4 separate regions of the Homo sapiens genome follow, and all the other regions are linked to region 1. The links are contacts of gene promoters, found by promoter capture Hi-C in blood cells and fetal thymus (Javierre and others, 2016). All regions are on one chromosome and are shown on one strand. Each heading gives the region's core, a stretch centred on a gene start or on the middle of the fragment in contact. The rest is flanking DNA. Distances are from core to core; before and after follow the strand shown.

The links. Contacts are between HindIII fragments. The CHiCAGO score rates a contact against its expected background, and 5 or more counts as called.
Region 2: a contact is called between a fragment that was not itself captured here and the fragment with the promoter of SLC25A11 in region 1, in 1 of 17 cell types (naive B cells). The highest score is 5.4, in naive B cells.
Region 3: a fragment that was not itself captured here is called in contact with the fragment with the promoter of SLC25A11 in region 1 in 2 of 17 cell types (total CD4 T cells and activated CD4 T cells); the score reaches 5.1 in total CD4 T cells.
Region 4: a fragment that was not itself captured here is called in contact with the fragment with the promoter of SLC25A11 in region 1 in 1 of 17 cell types (naive B cells); the score reaches 5.6 in naive B cells.

What each region holds. Positions count from the first base shown.
Region 1 is chr17:4,938,796-4,942,015 of GRCh38, forward strand. SLC25A11 (solute carrier family 25 member 11) reads right to left here and starts at 1,251. Exons shown (of 8, transcript NM_003562.5): 1 at 1,021-1,251; 2 at 265-417; 3 at 1-180. The coding sequence starts at 1,115. RNF167 (ring finger protein 167) reads left to right here and starts at 1,473. Exons shown (of 10, transcript NM_015528.3): 1 at 1,473-1,565; 2 at 1,692-2,198; 3 at 2,282-2,362. The coding sequence starts at 2,115. RefSeq lists enhancers at 1-58, 59-584, 1,301-1,370, 2,251-2,380 and silencers at 1,091-1,160, 1,723-1,917. The HindIII fragment of the contact is 8,197 bases long and covers 1-3,220 here.
Region 2 is chr17:5,451,632-5,454,973 of GRCh38, forward strand. DHX33 (DEAH-box helicase 33) reads right to left here. Exons shown (of 12, transcript NM_020162.4): 7 at 2,190-2,349; 8 at 1,949-2,037. Among named protein-coding and RNA genes, the nearest start is that of C1QBP, 14 kb to the left of the region's middle. The HindIII fragment of the contact is 6,981 bases long and covers 1-3,342 here.
Region 3 is chr17:4,257,661-4,261,261 of GRCh38, forward strand. All of the region lies in intron 1 of ANKFY1 (ankyrin repeat and FYVE domain containing 1), which reads right to left. Among named protein-coding and RNA genes, the nearest start is that of ANKFY1, 4.5 kb to the right of the region's middle. The HindIII fragment of the contact is 2,575 bases long and covers 93-2,667 here.
Region 4 is chr17:5,471,484-5,474,898 of GRCh38, forward strand. DERL2 (derlin 2) reads right to left here. Exons shown (of 7, transcript NM_016041.5): 7 at 1-3,306. The coding sequence ends at 3,201. Among named protein-coding and RNA genes, the nearest start is that of DHX33-DT, 4.1 kb to the left of the region's middle. The HindIII fragment of the contact is 2,819 bases long and covers 1-2,798 here.

The DNA of each region.
Region 1 (3,220 bases), core at 1-2,500:
GCCACTTCGGCTGGTGTTCCCACAAAGGCACCAGTGGCACCTGCGGTCATGCCAATCACAGCCTTCAGCAGAAAGCCAGGGGGAGTACCATCAGCCCCAGTCAGGCGCTCAAACAGCACGGTATAGATGCCAAGGCGGGTAGTGGTGTAGGTGGCCTGACGCAGCAGGCCAGCCGACAGCCTGAGGAGCAGAGGGGTCAGCATATCAGGCCAAGGTCTAGAGCTGCCAACCCACAGTCTACCCTCCATCCTGAGGCCCCAATACCCAGTGTAAATGCCCCTCAGGCCTTCTGCCTTCAGGATACTGGTGAGGGCATGGAAGCTGGTTTTGTACTCTCGAGTCTTGGCCCCTTCCCCGCTCAACTGCATCCGGTTCTTCACCAGGTCCAGGGGCTGGACAAAAACTGTAGCTCCCATCCTGGGGGAAGACAGAGGTGGAGTGAAGGGCCAGGCATTCCAGATCTACCAGTGCCCACTGGAGCCTGGCAGCAAGAGGTTACAAAGGTCAGGGCCTGCCATGCGATTCAAGAATCAGGATGCTGGTGAGCATGTGTATAAGAGTCTATATGTACACCAAGTGCAACGGGTCTGAAAAGTCTAGTTGTCCAGTAGGGGCCATGCAATGAAAGTGCTCCAAGCAGCTTCATGACAGTCAAGCAGTGACCTGGGGCTGCACGCAGTCCGACACAGGGAGGGGAGGAAGGGGCATCCAAGATTTAGGACTCCAGGTAGTCCTGCAGGAGCCATTTAATGGCCTGGAACCCCCTGCCGCCCGGCCGAGCTTAGCAATGCGCTGGGAAACTCAGCTGGCCCGGCGGGGGTTGTGCAACGACCCTGCATGCAGTCCATAAGGGTCCTGCAATGGGGCCCTAGCAGCCCATCGGGGAACTCGCAATACGCTGGAGATCGCGCTGACCCCGTGCCGGCACAGTTCACTGCAACAGACCCAGAGATGAACCGGGCCCGGTTCCTTTTGCCCTTCCCTTCCTCCTCTTTTCCCATCCCTGGGGCCTGAGCTTACCCGGCCAGGCCCCCAAACAGGAACTTGACGGACTTAGGGGAGGTACGGGGCTTCCCGTCTATCCCGCCGGCCCCGGCACTCGCCGTCGCCGCCATCGCCACTCAATGGCCCTCGGCTCCGGGTCCCGTGCGCGCGCGGCCCCGCTCGCGCCCAAGGTGACACCGCGCGCGCAACAGAGCGAGGGCGCGCGCACGCCCCTCCAGCTCTCAGGTCCGACACCCGCTGGAAGCCGGCGCGGGCGCAGGCGCGCAGCGCAAAGGCGGCCGGGAGTAAGGCGGAGCTGAAGGAGGAGCTTGATGGAAGCGTGCGAGAAGGGGCGTAACTGATTTGGAAACCAGAGGAAAGGCGCTGTTTTCACCGAATTAGAATCGCGGGAAAATAGAGAAGAGTTTGTTTGAAGGTCTCGCGAGATCGAGTGAGTACGGCTCGCCAAGTTGGAGCGCTCTCGCGATAGACACAGCAACTATTCAGCTGCGAGGGGACGGGAGAGGTGGTGAGCACTCTCGCGAGATTTGAAGGAGCGGCGGAGGCCAGAGGGAGGAGAGGTTTGTAAACTAGGAGGCTCCGGGTTTCCGGGCACTTTTATTAGGTCGTCTTCTGGGCCACCAGTGCCCCTTCCATCTCCACAGGCAGTCCCTCCATCGCTAACCTTTTTTTAACCGGCCTTTTAGGACCGGAAGTCCTTCATCTCAAGCATCCAATGCTGAAAGCGGCCTGATTTTCTCTACCGGAAGCCCTTTTCCAGAGGCTGGGAACACGGCCCACCTAGCAGGAAGTCCCACCTCCTTGAGCTCCGCCACCCTTCCCGAAGTTTTTCTGTCACCTGTGTTAGGCTCCGTCCCCTTTCCGCGTTTTATCCCCGTACCAGAAAAGGATACATTTAGTGCCTCCCACCCAGCTCCACTAAACGGGTTGGATATCTCATTCTTTGAGTTGGTGTTCCTTCCCCGGCGCCCCCATGTAGCTGGGAAGTGGGACCTGGGGGTGGTTGGACCCCTGGGATCCTAAAGGAGGGGCAGGGAGGGCGCAGAACTCCGCTTCTGCTCCTTGCTACCAGGACGCGCGGCCTCCTCAGCCTCTTTCCTCCCGCTGCCATGCACCCTGCAGCCTTCCCGCTTCCTGTGGTTGTGGCCGCTGTGCTGTGGGGAGCGGCCCCGACCCGGGGGCTCATTCGAGCGGTGAGTCTGAGGGACGGATGGGGAAAGGGCGCTGAAAGGAAGGGTTGCAGGCTGAAGGGGAACATCGCCTTTTTTGTCCGCAGACCTCGGACCACAATGCCAGCATGGACTTTGCAGACCTTCCAGCTCTGTTTGGGGCTACCTTGAGCCAGGAGGGCCTCCAGGTGATTTTCTTTCTTTTCTTTTCCTCCTTCCCTCCCTTCCTTCCTTTTCTGTCTTTTTTCTTTTTTTAGTATTTCGCAAGATCCTCCATCCTAGGCTGGGGTTGGGGAGGTTTGTCCTGGGTGAAACTGGAGGTAGGAAAATGAAGTTAGGAACTGAGCACGTCTAGTGTAGAACCCAGAATCTAGAGGGAGAAGACAGAGTGTCCACCCCTGGAACTCCGAGGTTATCAGGGAGACTGAAAGTGGACGAAGACAGAAGGCAGGATCAACGGTCCTTATCAGGAAGGTCTCAGGTGCTAGTTATTGCTTATATGACTTTGGGCAAGTTAATCTCTCTGAGCCTTAGTTTGTTTTACTGTAAAATGGGATATTAGAAGTTTTCCTAGGGTTATTGTGAAGATCAAAGTAGATACGCAATTTTGGTAGTATTTCATCCCAAAGACTGCCACATAGCAAGAACTCAGTTGGGCCTTAGTAGCAGTCGAGTTGTTTGTGAGATGGGTAATTAGAAAATTGAAGAGGCCGGGCGCGGTGGCTCACATCTGTAATCCCAGTTCAAGACCAGCCTGGCCAACATGGAGAAACCCTATCTCTACTAAAATGGCAAAAATTAGCTGGGCGTGATGGTGCACGCATGTAGTCCCAACTACTTGGGAGGCTGAGGCAGGAGAATCACTTGAAACCGGAAGGTGGAGGTTGCAGTGAGCCGAGATCGCGCCACTGCACTCCAGCCTGGGTGACAAAACGAGACTCCATCTCAAAAAAAAGAAAAACAAAAAGAAAACTGAAGGGAGGGGAGTGTGTCTGTATGAGTATGTGCTGGAGAGGGGACTGTGAAACAGAACTTGAGAGAAAGTG
Region 2 (3,342 bases), core at 371-2,870, 510 kb after region 1:
TTATTACTATTTACTATTTTATATATTTTAAACTTTGAACCATGTAAATATAGTACCTATTAAAGAATAAAAAAGCATTTCTAAGGATGTAGTAAATATATACATCCCAATAAGGAGTGATCTGTAAAATGTATTAAATGAAAAAAAGCAGTGTGTTTCTCATTGCTTTTTTAAAGCAATATTTATCAACTGAAGGATGGATAAATGCATTTTGGTTTATTCACAGAATGGAATAGCACTTAGTGTGAAAAAGCATCAGCACAAATATACTATACGGAACAAGCTGAATGAAAACCGCTTACTCAAGAATAACTAACATAAACTTACAAACAACAGGTGGTTTAGGGATACATACGCATATAGTAAAACAGTGAAGAAAAGCAAGGCAATTACAAACAAAATATGGAAGAGTGGGTACCCCAAAAGAGTGGAAGGAGGCGAGGGCAAGTGGGTGGGGGGGACTCCTGGGGGCTTCAATTGGGTACACAGGTGTTAGATTTTAACCATTCCTTACACCTTATGTATCTTCTTCATTTGTATGTAAGAATTTAGCAATGAAAGAAAAAAAATCAAGCACAGAACAATACTCAATGTGTGTTGCTATTTGTGTTTTAAAACATACTACAGGCTGGGCGTGGTGGCTCACGCCTGTAATCCCAGCACTTTGGGAGACCGAGGTGGGCGGACCACCTAGGTCAGGAGTTCAAGACCAGCCTGGTCAACATAGTGAAACTCCATCTATACTAAAAAATACAAAAATTAGCCGGGCATGGTGGTGCACACCTGTAGTCCTAGCTACTCGGGAGGCTGAGGCAGGAGAATCACCTGAACCCGGCAGGTGGAGGTTGCAGTGAGCTGGGATCGCACCACTGCACTCCAGCCTGGGCAACAGAGTGAGACCCTGTCTCAAAACAAAAACAAAAACAAAAACATACTACAGCAGGGGCTTGGTGGCTCACACCTGTAGTCCCAGCTACTTGGGAAGCTGATGTGGGAGAATCACCTGAGCCCGGGAGGTTGAGGCTGCAGTGTGCTGAGAATGTGCCACTGCACTCCAGCCTGGACAACCAGAGTGAGACCCTGTCTCAAAAATAAATAAATAAATACATAAATAAAATCAAACACACTACATATACTCATATATGCATACATTTGCTCTAGAAGTCTACTAGAAAATGGTTCCAGTGGTTGTTCTAGGGGAAGGAAACTGTGAACCTGAGGATCAGGGCAGGACCCTTGTATACCCATCAACTGGTGACTTTGTGTTTTCTTTCCTTCTTTTTTAAACCAATTGCATTTCTTAAGAAAAGGGGGGGCAATAAAAAGAAAAGGAAAATGGTGCGTTGATGAGAGGCCAGGTGCCAAAGCCAATATCATAAATATTTCCAATTATTTTCTTCTTCTGTAGAGAAATTACTAATGAACAGGAGAGATGGATCAAATTCCAGTTAAAGGCAAAGAAATGTGATCTTTGCAGTCCCTGTGCTGATAAAAGTACAATTTCATTACATTTCTGTAGTATCCCAAGGACTCGCATGATGACCTTCACTGGTTCCAGAGGTCAAGGAACTTTATTGATGGTGCTGATAGTACAGAATCTATCGTTTCATAGCTAGGAACACTGGCGCATGCCTGTGGTCCCAGCTACTTGGGAGGCTGAGGCGGGGGGATCGCTGGAGCCCAGGAGTTGGAGGCTGTGATGGAGCCTGTGAATAGTCACTGCACCTCCACCTGGGCCACACAGTGAGACCCTGTCTCTTTAAAAGTCAATCAATGTATCTATCTATCATTTCATGATTTTCAGATGCTTCTCTAATAACTAATGTTGTCATCCACAAAATTAAATAAACAAAAGGAGATGACCAATATACTTTATTTTTTTGGAAGTGTCCATTTGTTGTTGTTTGTCTCCTCACCCACCTTCTGCAAAACTGTGGATTTCACTTACCTGGAGATGGCTTCGACATGAAGTCAAAGGTGAGCACATTTGGGACTTTCATTGCTAGAAGCTGAAGCATCACACTGGCCAGGTTACACCTGTGAAGAGCATGAGACCAGGGTCATGACCTGATCCCTCTGCCATTGAGTCAGAACCCCTCATGGTGGAGTGTGAGTAAAAACTGCAGCTCTGGGCAAGCAGGAGAGACATGGTGACAAACAGCAGCAGTGCAGGAGCAACTGGTGCCTACCTCTGGATCTCTGGCACGGTCATCTTATCAAACTTCTCAAACTCGTCCTCCGTGTAGAGCCGGTAGCAGATGCCACTGTCCTCTCTGCCAGCCCTCCCTGTGCGCTGCCAAGCCTGCGTCTTCGATACCCGCTGCACTGCTAACACCTCAAGACCACTGTCTGGATGGAGAGTGAGCCCCATTAGTGCTTCATCACATGAACAAACTCTTTCTACAGTGTCGATAAAAAGAAGCACACCAGTGGTTCTTTCAGCAACACGGGGGTCCAGAAAGCCTCAAGGCTAGCACAATGGACAGCACAAAACCAGACTGCTCCGCAGCGGTTTGGCCCTAGTGAAACAAGGCTTTGCCATAAGCCCACTGTGAAATCTGTTACAAAAACATCAGAAAAACCTCACGCATGCAGCAAGGGGCGAGAAGAGTAGTTTCCGAGGTCTTGCCTTAGATGGTAGGATGGCCAACCCCTCCAGTTTGCTTGGGACAGAGGGTTTCCTGGGATGTCGGATTTTGGGTGCTAAAACTGGGAGTTTCAGCAAACTAGGATGGGGGTCATACTATCAATCAATGACTACGAAATTAAATGCCTCAAATCACTTGTGTGCTTTATCCTCCCTCCCAGTTCTGCTGTAAGACAGAAATAATGTGATGTCTGTTTTCTAGCAGTAAATGAGGTTCATTTTCTTGATAAAGGTGTATCATTAGCCTGGCACTGGAGACCCAAGCTCTTTCACCTACGTCATCACAAAAAGATACACCTGTGGAAGCCAGGACCCTCAAATGTTTACTAGAGCATTTCAGTTCAATAATTGGGAGCAATAATTTCAGTGGTCTCAAATCCTCTGTGGAATAAAGCAAAGTATAAAACAGACATGAGTCAAGATGACCTTAAGTTAGCTTCTCACTGCACCTTCTTAGGAGAAGCCAGTGCTCCTTCCATGCCTCACCTCAGCCAGGAGATCTGGTTCCTTCCTGAGAAACCTGGGAGCTCAAACCAGCCATATATATATAGTTTCTGATGACACCCTTTGATTGACACCCAGCTGTCCCTGGCCTTAGAGCCGACTTCTGATGGGGTACCAGACCCTCTGCCCAGGTCCCTGACCCTGTGTGCCCAAGTTTGCTCAACCTGGGCTCTTCTTTCCTGCCTCTACTT
Region 3 (3,601 bases), core at 130-2,629, 680 kb before region 1:
CTAAGCATTTTTTACCCTTCACCTTAAAATATAGTTTCTCATATACAATTTCTTTTATCTCCCCTCCTAGACTTCAGAACTCCCTGTGAATAAGCTTTAGTTCTGGCTATTCGTATTTAACTATCAATTACTTCTCCCTCTATACCCATTCCATGGTTATCTCCTCCTCCCGACAGTACCTTACCAGATGGAGTTCAATAAATACCACAGGTTCAACAGGAGATTCTGGGGACATAGCAATTTCTCATTTGGTTCAGCAAGGCTGTAAATCATGATAGTATCTCAAATTGCCTACAGCAAATCACCTTGCCAGTGACAGAATCCTGTGTATCTCAGCACAATTCAGTAGCTTTACTTTGACATAACCACTAATGGATAAATTTTATTTCTCAGTAAAAATAATTCACAAGGAGAAAGCTAACAGCTACAGCTGGTGACAGTAGTCACCAGGAAAGGGAGAGAAAAGAAAAGAATGGTATAAAAGGAACAGTCCTTAAGAGGTCTCTGGACTATATATAATTATCAATGACCTGGGACATTTGTTCAATAAGTAAAACAATAAACAGATAAATTTCAGAAGTAGGGCCGGGCGCGGTGGCTCACGCCTGTAATCCCAGCACTTTGGGAGGCCGAGGCGGGCGGATCACGAGGTCAGGAGATCAAGACCATCCTTGCTAACACGGTGAAACCTCATCTCTACCAAAAATACAAAAAATTAGCCAGGCTTGGTGGCGGGCGCCTGTAGTCCCAGCTACTCGGGAGGCTGAGATAGGAGAATGGTGTGAACCTGGGAGGGGAGCTTGCAGTGAGCCGAGATCGCACCACTGCACTCCAGCCTGGGAGACAGAGCCAGACTCCAACTCAAAAAAAAAAAAAAAAAGTGGAAACAGCAAAGTTCCTTCTTTCCTTATTTCTACCAGCCTCCACTAATGAAGCATTTTCTGGAACAGGACTATCCAAAGCACTTCTGGCAATGGTGCAAGTGTTCTATTAATCTGTGCTGTCCATTAGGGGGAGCTACTAGCCACATGGCTACTGAGTACTTGGAATAGGACTAGTACAACTGAGAAGTTAATTTTAAATTTTATTTAATTTTAATCAAATTTAAGTAGCCACATGTGGCTAGTGACTATTGTGTTGGTCAATGAATACCCAGGACATGGAATGTTTTCCCCATTTTGCTTGGGTTGTTGTCAAAAGTATTTTTCTGATCAAATTCCATCAAGCTAACAAAAGTTTATGATAAATTTTCTGTTCAATATACTATTTACAAAAAAATTACATTTTTTTCAATTTTTACTTTTACTGAGGAAAAGAAATGGAGAGTGATTTTAGAGGAGACTCAAGAGAAAGACTGTGCACCAGGGTGAAAGCATCAGGCGCTGTGGGAAAAGCATCAGTCGCTGTGGAAGAAACATTAGGCGCTGTGGAAAAAGGCTCTTCCTGCAACTGAGAAATATCCTAGGATTCCCACAGCTACTTGTGAGCTACAGATGATCCCCCTTTTAAAGCTGAGGACACTGAGACTGACAGCAATTAATTGACTTGCTTATGATCACAGCTTAAACTAGGATTTAAATCCATGTCCAGCTGCAGAGTCTGAGCTCTTAAACACTACATTTTATTTTATTATTATTATTTTTTGAGACAGTCTCTGTTGCTCAGGCTGGAGTGCGGTGGCGCGATCTCGGATCACTGCAACCTCCACCTTCCGGGTTCAAGTGATTCTCCTGACTCAAGTCTCCTGAGCAGCTGGGATTACAGGCACATGCCACCATGCCTGGCTAATTTTTGTATGTTTAGTAGAGATGGGGTTCCACCATGTTGGTCAGGCTGGTCTGGAACTCCTGACCTCAAGTGATCCGCCCACCTTGGCCTCCCAAAGTGCTGAGATTACAGGCGTGAGCCACCGTGCCCGGCCTTAAACATTGTATTTTAGTTGCTAAAACAAAAATGGGCTGGATGAAAAGTAGGTTAGGTAGCTCCTAGCAGACTTAGGTTATGCAGAGTATAATAAAAGGTGGACCAGCCAGTTTGCTTGACAAGAGGCTAAGGATGTATCCAGGCAACTTTTCTTGATGGCTAGCAGGTGATGCTCAATAAATTCATACATTCCTTCAACCACAGCCATGATTCTAAGCTGGGAGATACAGGAGTGAGCAAAACAGACCAAGTTCCTGCCCTCATGGGGTTTATATTCCAGTGAGGGATGCTCTCTAATGAGATGACAACTGAACAGACACTGAGTGAATAAAGTGGGTCAGTTGTGTGGAGAAACAGCGGAGGACTGTTCCAGGCCAAGGAAACTGCAGGGACAAAGACGCAGAGGTAGCAGCATGTCGGGCACACACAAAGAACGCAAAAAAGTCAGTGTGGCAGGGGCACAGTGAATGAAAGTAGGAAATAAGCTCGAAGTGTTAAGTGGGGCCCACACCCTGTTAATACTTAACAGAGAACTGGAATATATTTTAAGATTACGGAGAAGTGTGAGAGTTGGGCATTGAGGGGCAGGAGTATTAAGAAGAGTAGGAGAGACATGATCTGATTGATGTCTTAAAGGGAACACTAGAAACTGTGAAATTAGGCTGTGAGAGAGCAAAATCTAGGAGGAAAAGTTAAAAGCAAACTTTTAATTGGAACCTTTTGAAGTAGTTCACTTACAAACGAAGCTTAGGGCTGGGAGCGGTGGCTCACACCTGTAATCCCAGCACTTCAGGAGGCCCAGGCAGGTGAATGGCTTGAGCCCAGGAGTTCAAGACCAGCCTGGACAACATCACAAAACCCCAACTCTACAAAAAATACAAAAATTAGCCAATGTGGTGGCATGCACATCTGCACTCCCAGCTACTTGGGAGGCTGAAGTGAGGGAATCACTTGAGCCTGGGAGGTGGAGATTGCAATGAGCTGTGATCACGCCATTGTACTCCAGCCTGGGTGACGGAGTGAGATCCTGTCTCCAAAAAAAAAAAAAAAAAAAAAAAACCCACAAATGAAGCTTAGATTAAGCAGGATAGCCACAGAGATGTAGAGTTGGGGAATAAAACTAATTTTAGGACAGACTTTAGCTAAATATATATGGTCAAATGAATAGCCATGGATAGATGGAAGGAAAGAAGGTTGTTCTCTAAACAAGTCACATAAGAAGCTGTATCCTCAGTCTCTCACGATCCTATTTACTATTCCTAGGCACTATCTCCCACATTCTCACATGGCCAACCAACCATTATCAGGGAAGTTCCCATAGTGTGTTTACAGATCATTCAAGTTATATGACACAGATATCTGCTATTTATTTATATTTAAATAACTGTCTCCAAACAAGCATAGCAGGCTCTGAGAATCTGATTAAAGCACAAGCAGTAGTATTAATATCCCAAGAAACATTTTCTACCTAATCTTGCCTTCCTTTGCATAGCAAGCACCTTCAGATTAATAAGCTAAATGACCCAGAATGCCTCCTAGTTGAAGTCTGCAACATCGTTTCTAAAAAGCTTAAATCCCAACAAAAAGTTGGGACACAAAAGAGGTAAAAGAAAAACTGTGGCCGGCCGGGTGTGGTGGCTCACACCGGCAATCCCAGCACTTTGGGAGGCCGAGGCCG
Region 4 (3,415 bases), core at 139-2,638, 530 kb after region 1:
CAGACAATAAAATAGGCCTTAGAGTCAAGATTTTTTGAGGAATCAGGAACAAGGCCAGGCCTTGAAGAACTGAAGAGACTTAAGTTGAGGTCCCTGTTAGGTAGAAGTGGGAGTAAAGTTAAGAAAAAAACAAGTATGCATATAATGTAGGGGCTTACTAAGAAGTCACTGTGGATTTCTGAGCAGAGGAGTGACTTGATCATACAAGATTCAACAATTTTATTGCAAACTCATAAAATATGTTTAAGTAGCCTGGAGACATCCTACAGAACACAGAAAATAATGGCAGGATCATGACTAACAACATAGCTGGAACTCACCTGTCAAAGAAAAACAGCTACAACATAAAACACTGGCAGGATAGATGACAATAGTTCTAGGAAGCCCATTACTCAACATGGCAATAGCTCCAATGCTTCCTTATTTTCAGAGGCCCCAGAGACTGAGGGTTTCATTATCCAGACCCAGGACTTAGGTGTTCTGCTTCTAGAGACTACACAAGAGGTATGAAAGATATGAGGACATACAAGAGTGACACAGAAAAAACAAGAGGAAGAGAGAAACAAATAGAAATCCATACTGGAAAAAAACGCACCGAAATGTATATAAAATGTATCTCCTAAGGAGATGCAATTTGTATGTCCATTTATTTTTAAATGAACGTATACCGTATTTCCATAACAAACAAAAAACACTATGCTTTAGTCAAGTGTGCTTTTCAGTATCACTAGAAGAATCCAGGAATCCCTCAAATTATGTGTAAGGTTAGTTGGTTGGTCTCAAAATTCCATGTATCAAATCTCACTTTCAGTTTATTTGCATTGTGAAAGGGAAGTGTGTTCTGGAAGAACTAAGATTGAGAGGTAAATTGGGGAGAAAGTAAGGACTTTTCCTTATGTCCATTCAAGCACAGGTATCCTGTCAAGCAACACAGGGCTAGGAATGGTGGTTGTAGGGCTGGCCAAACTGATGAGAGGTGATTGAAATTACCACTGCTCAGGACACAGTGTAGTCAGTCACACAGCAGGGCATCCTGCCACTGGGAACTTGCACCCTATAAAATCGGAGAAATCAAAAACCCTGTAACTGCCTGCCTTTAGGCTGTATATTCAAAATGTATTTCCTGTTTTACCTAGTCATTAATGTATACAGATATTCCCTACTTAAATGAACAGTGAGTTAACAGATTTTAGGATTAGTATTTTACCACAAAAATGCCATTCATTGCATAACTCCAACTCAGGGAGAACAAATAAAACTAGAGAAACTCATTTCTAGCCCAAAAACAATTTAAAAAAAAAAAACAAAAAACAAAATTCTAACAAACGTCACTGATAAAGCGTTCTTGAGCAAAAACAAGATAGGATAAAACTTAAGAATCCCATAAGGATTATACATGCTAAGATTGGCTTTTAAACTTTGAAAACCTTTTTTAAACTGCTTAAAAAGCAGTCCCATAGACCCAGGTTCCATAAAATTGCAACAATCATATTCAAAGTTATTAGCAACATGTAAAATACTTAAATACCATTAGTTATGCAATTCCATTTAAAGACATTAAAACACTTTTCACTTCAAAAACAATCTGAAAATTCCTATTTAGGATGTCCATTATGTTTAAGCCTATGTCTATCTTTCTGAGGACAATGTCACATTCTGGAAAGCTACCCCTTAACAAAGGTTGAATGAACTACTACTAACAATCCACTTTTGGGAAAGGGACCTGTGCCTACATGCCGTTAATGAAAGCTGTTTGGAATCATCTCTTTCCTAGGGGTGCTCTTTCGACTCTTCCAGGTTCTGGAAGTTACTTAAGCAGTGTGAATGCAAACCTGCTGAGACTCAGGGAAGACTTAATATTTAGGGGAAGTATTTATTGAACCACAGCATTAAGTGTCTACTTCTGTGGACCCTGTCTAATTTCTACCTGATTGGGAAGGTAATCCAGGTACTTGGCTCTGAAAAGGTTCTTGAATTTTCACGAAGCAAATGACTAATGTTAACTAGCCAAAGACCCTGGAAGAACATATGCCTAGCTAACTGGTATCTGTTCGTCTGGCTCCAAAGTCAACATTCTAACTTGGTTTCCAAATCTAATGAAAATCTGAGACCCTGTCTCTATTTTTTTTTTTTAATTAAAAAAACAAAAAACAAAACAAAACAAAAAAGGCAAAAAAAAAAAAAATGGCTGGGCATGGTGGCTCATGCCTGTCATCCTAGCACTTTGGGAGGCTGAGGTGGGAGGATTGCTTGAGTCCAGGAGTTCAAGACCAGCCTGGGCAACACAGTGAGACCCCATCTGTATTTAAAAAAAAATTTTTAATTAAAACTTTTTTAAAAATAAAAGAAAAAAAAAGTCTAATGAAAATCTTCCTAGTTTTACAAAAATGTGGCCCTTACCAATCTTTCCCTGGATACTTCTTAATGGAGAAATGTAAGTAAAGCAAATAAGATGCCACATTAGCTTACAGCTGACTTTCCTATAGCTGAATTCCTACTGCTACAAGAACCATCCTCCCTCCTTTTTTTTCATGTTGTCTGACAAAGTTTGGCAAAACCCAGATGCAAAACAACCTATCCAGATGACAGAAATAAATCATCTTCCTGCTGAATCTTGCATTCTGAGTTAGTAAGATGTACACAACCACAGCATGACAGCCACGTATTTCCAATCCTGAAATGAAATCCAGTTAAAAGTTGTGAAGACACAGGAAGAACAGCTGTGTAAACTGTTCTGAGCTCAGATCTACGCAGGAGGGCTACAATACATTATCAGAATTTAAAAGATCACACACAAAAGCTTTAATACAGTGAGAGAAAAATGGAATTCCGTTTTATTTTGTCCTCTCTGAAACTTCCATTTACACCATGGCCTCATCTATCAAGAAGAGGAAGAAAAGGCTCTGCCTTATACCATAAAAATCAAGTACTCATGTACTTGTTAGAGGTGGCAGGATATTTGTTTCTCCAGTTTTTTGGCTCTAAGAAATTACACTTTCAGTACCAGTGTAGTGAGGAACCACTGGCAAACTGTTGGAAATGTCTTCTGGATTAGTCAGTGTACCATTTCATAAAGTGCTTCTGGAGTTAAAATCTGCCAAGCTGTCAAAAGTGTCCACACTTTTGCAACAAAGGATAAAAGATCCCAGTGGGTATCACCGAGTCCTTCCCAGCTGGGTCTCATTATTGGCACTGCTGCTTTAACCTCCAAGCCGCTGGCCCTCACCCCAGGCGAAGCCTCCTGGCCGTTCCTCAGGTAGTGGATTGTAATTTGGATCCTCATCTGGTGTATCAAAAATAGCTTTCCTAAAAGACAAGCAACAGATATAATTTGGTCCCAGAGTCATCTCAGGTCCAAAGTACTACAAGGTCAGTTCAGGCCCCATAGGGTTTCCACCAATAGGTAAGCATTACA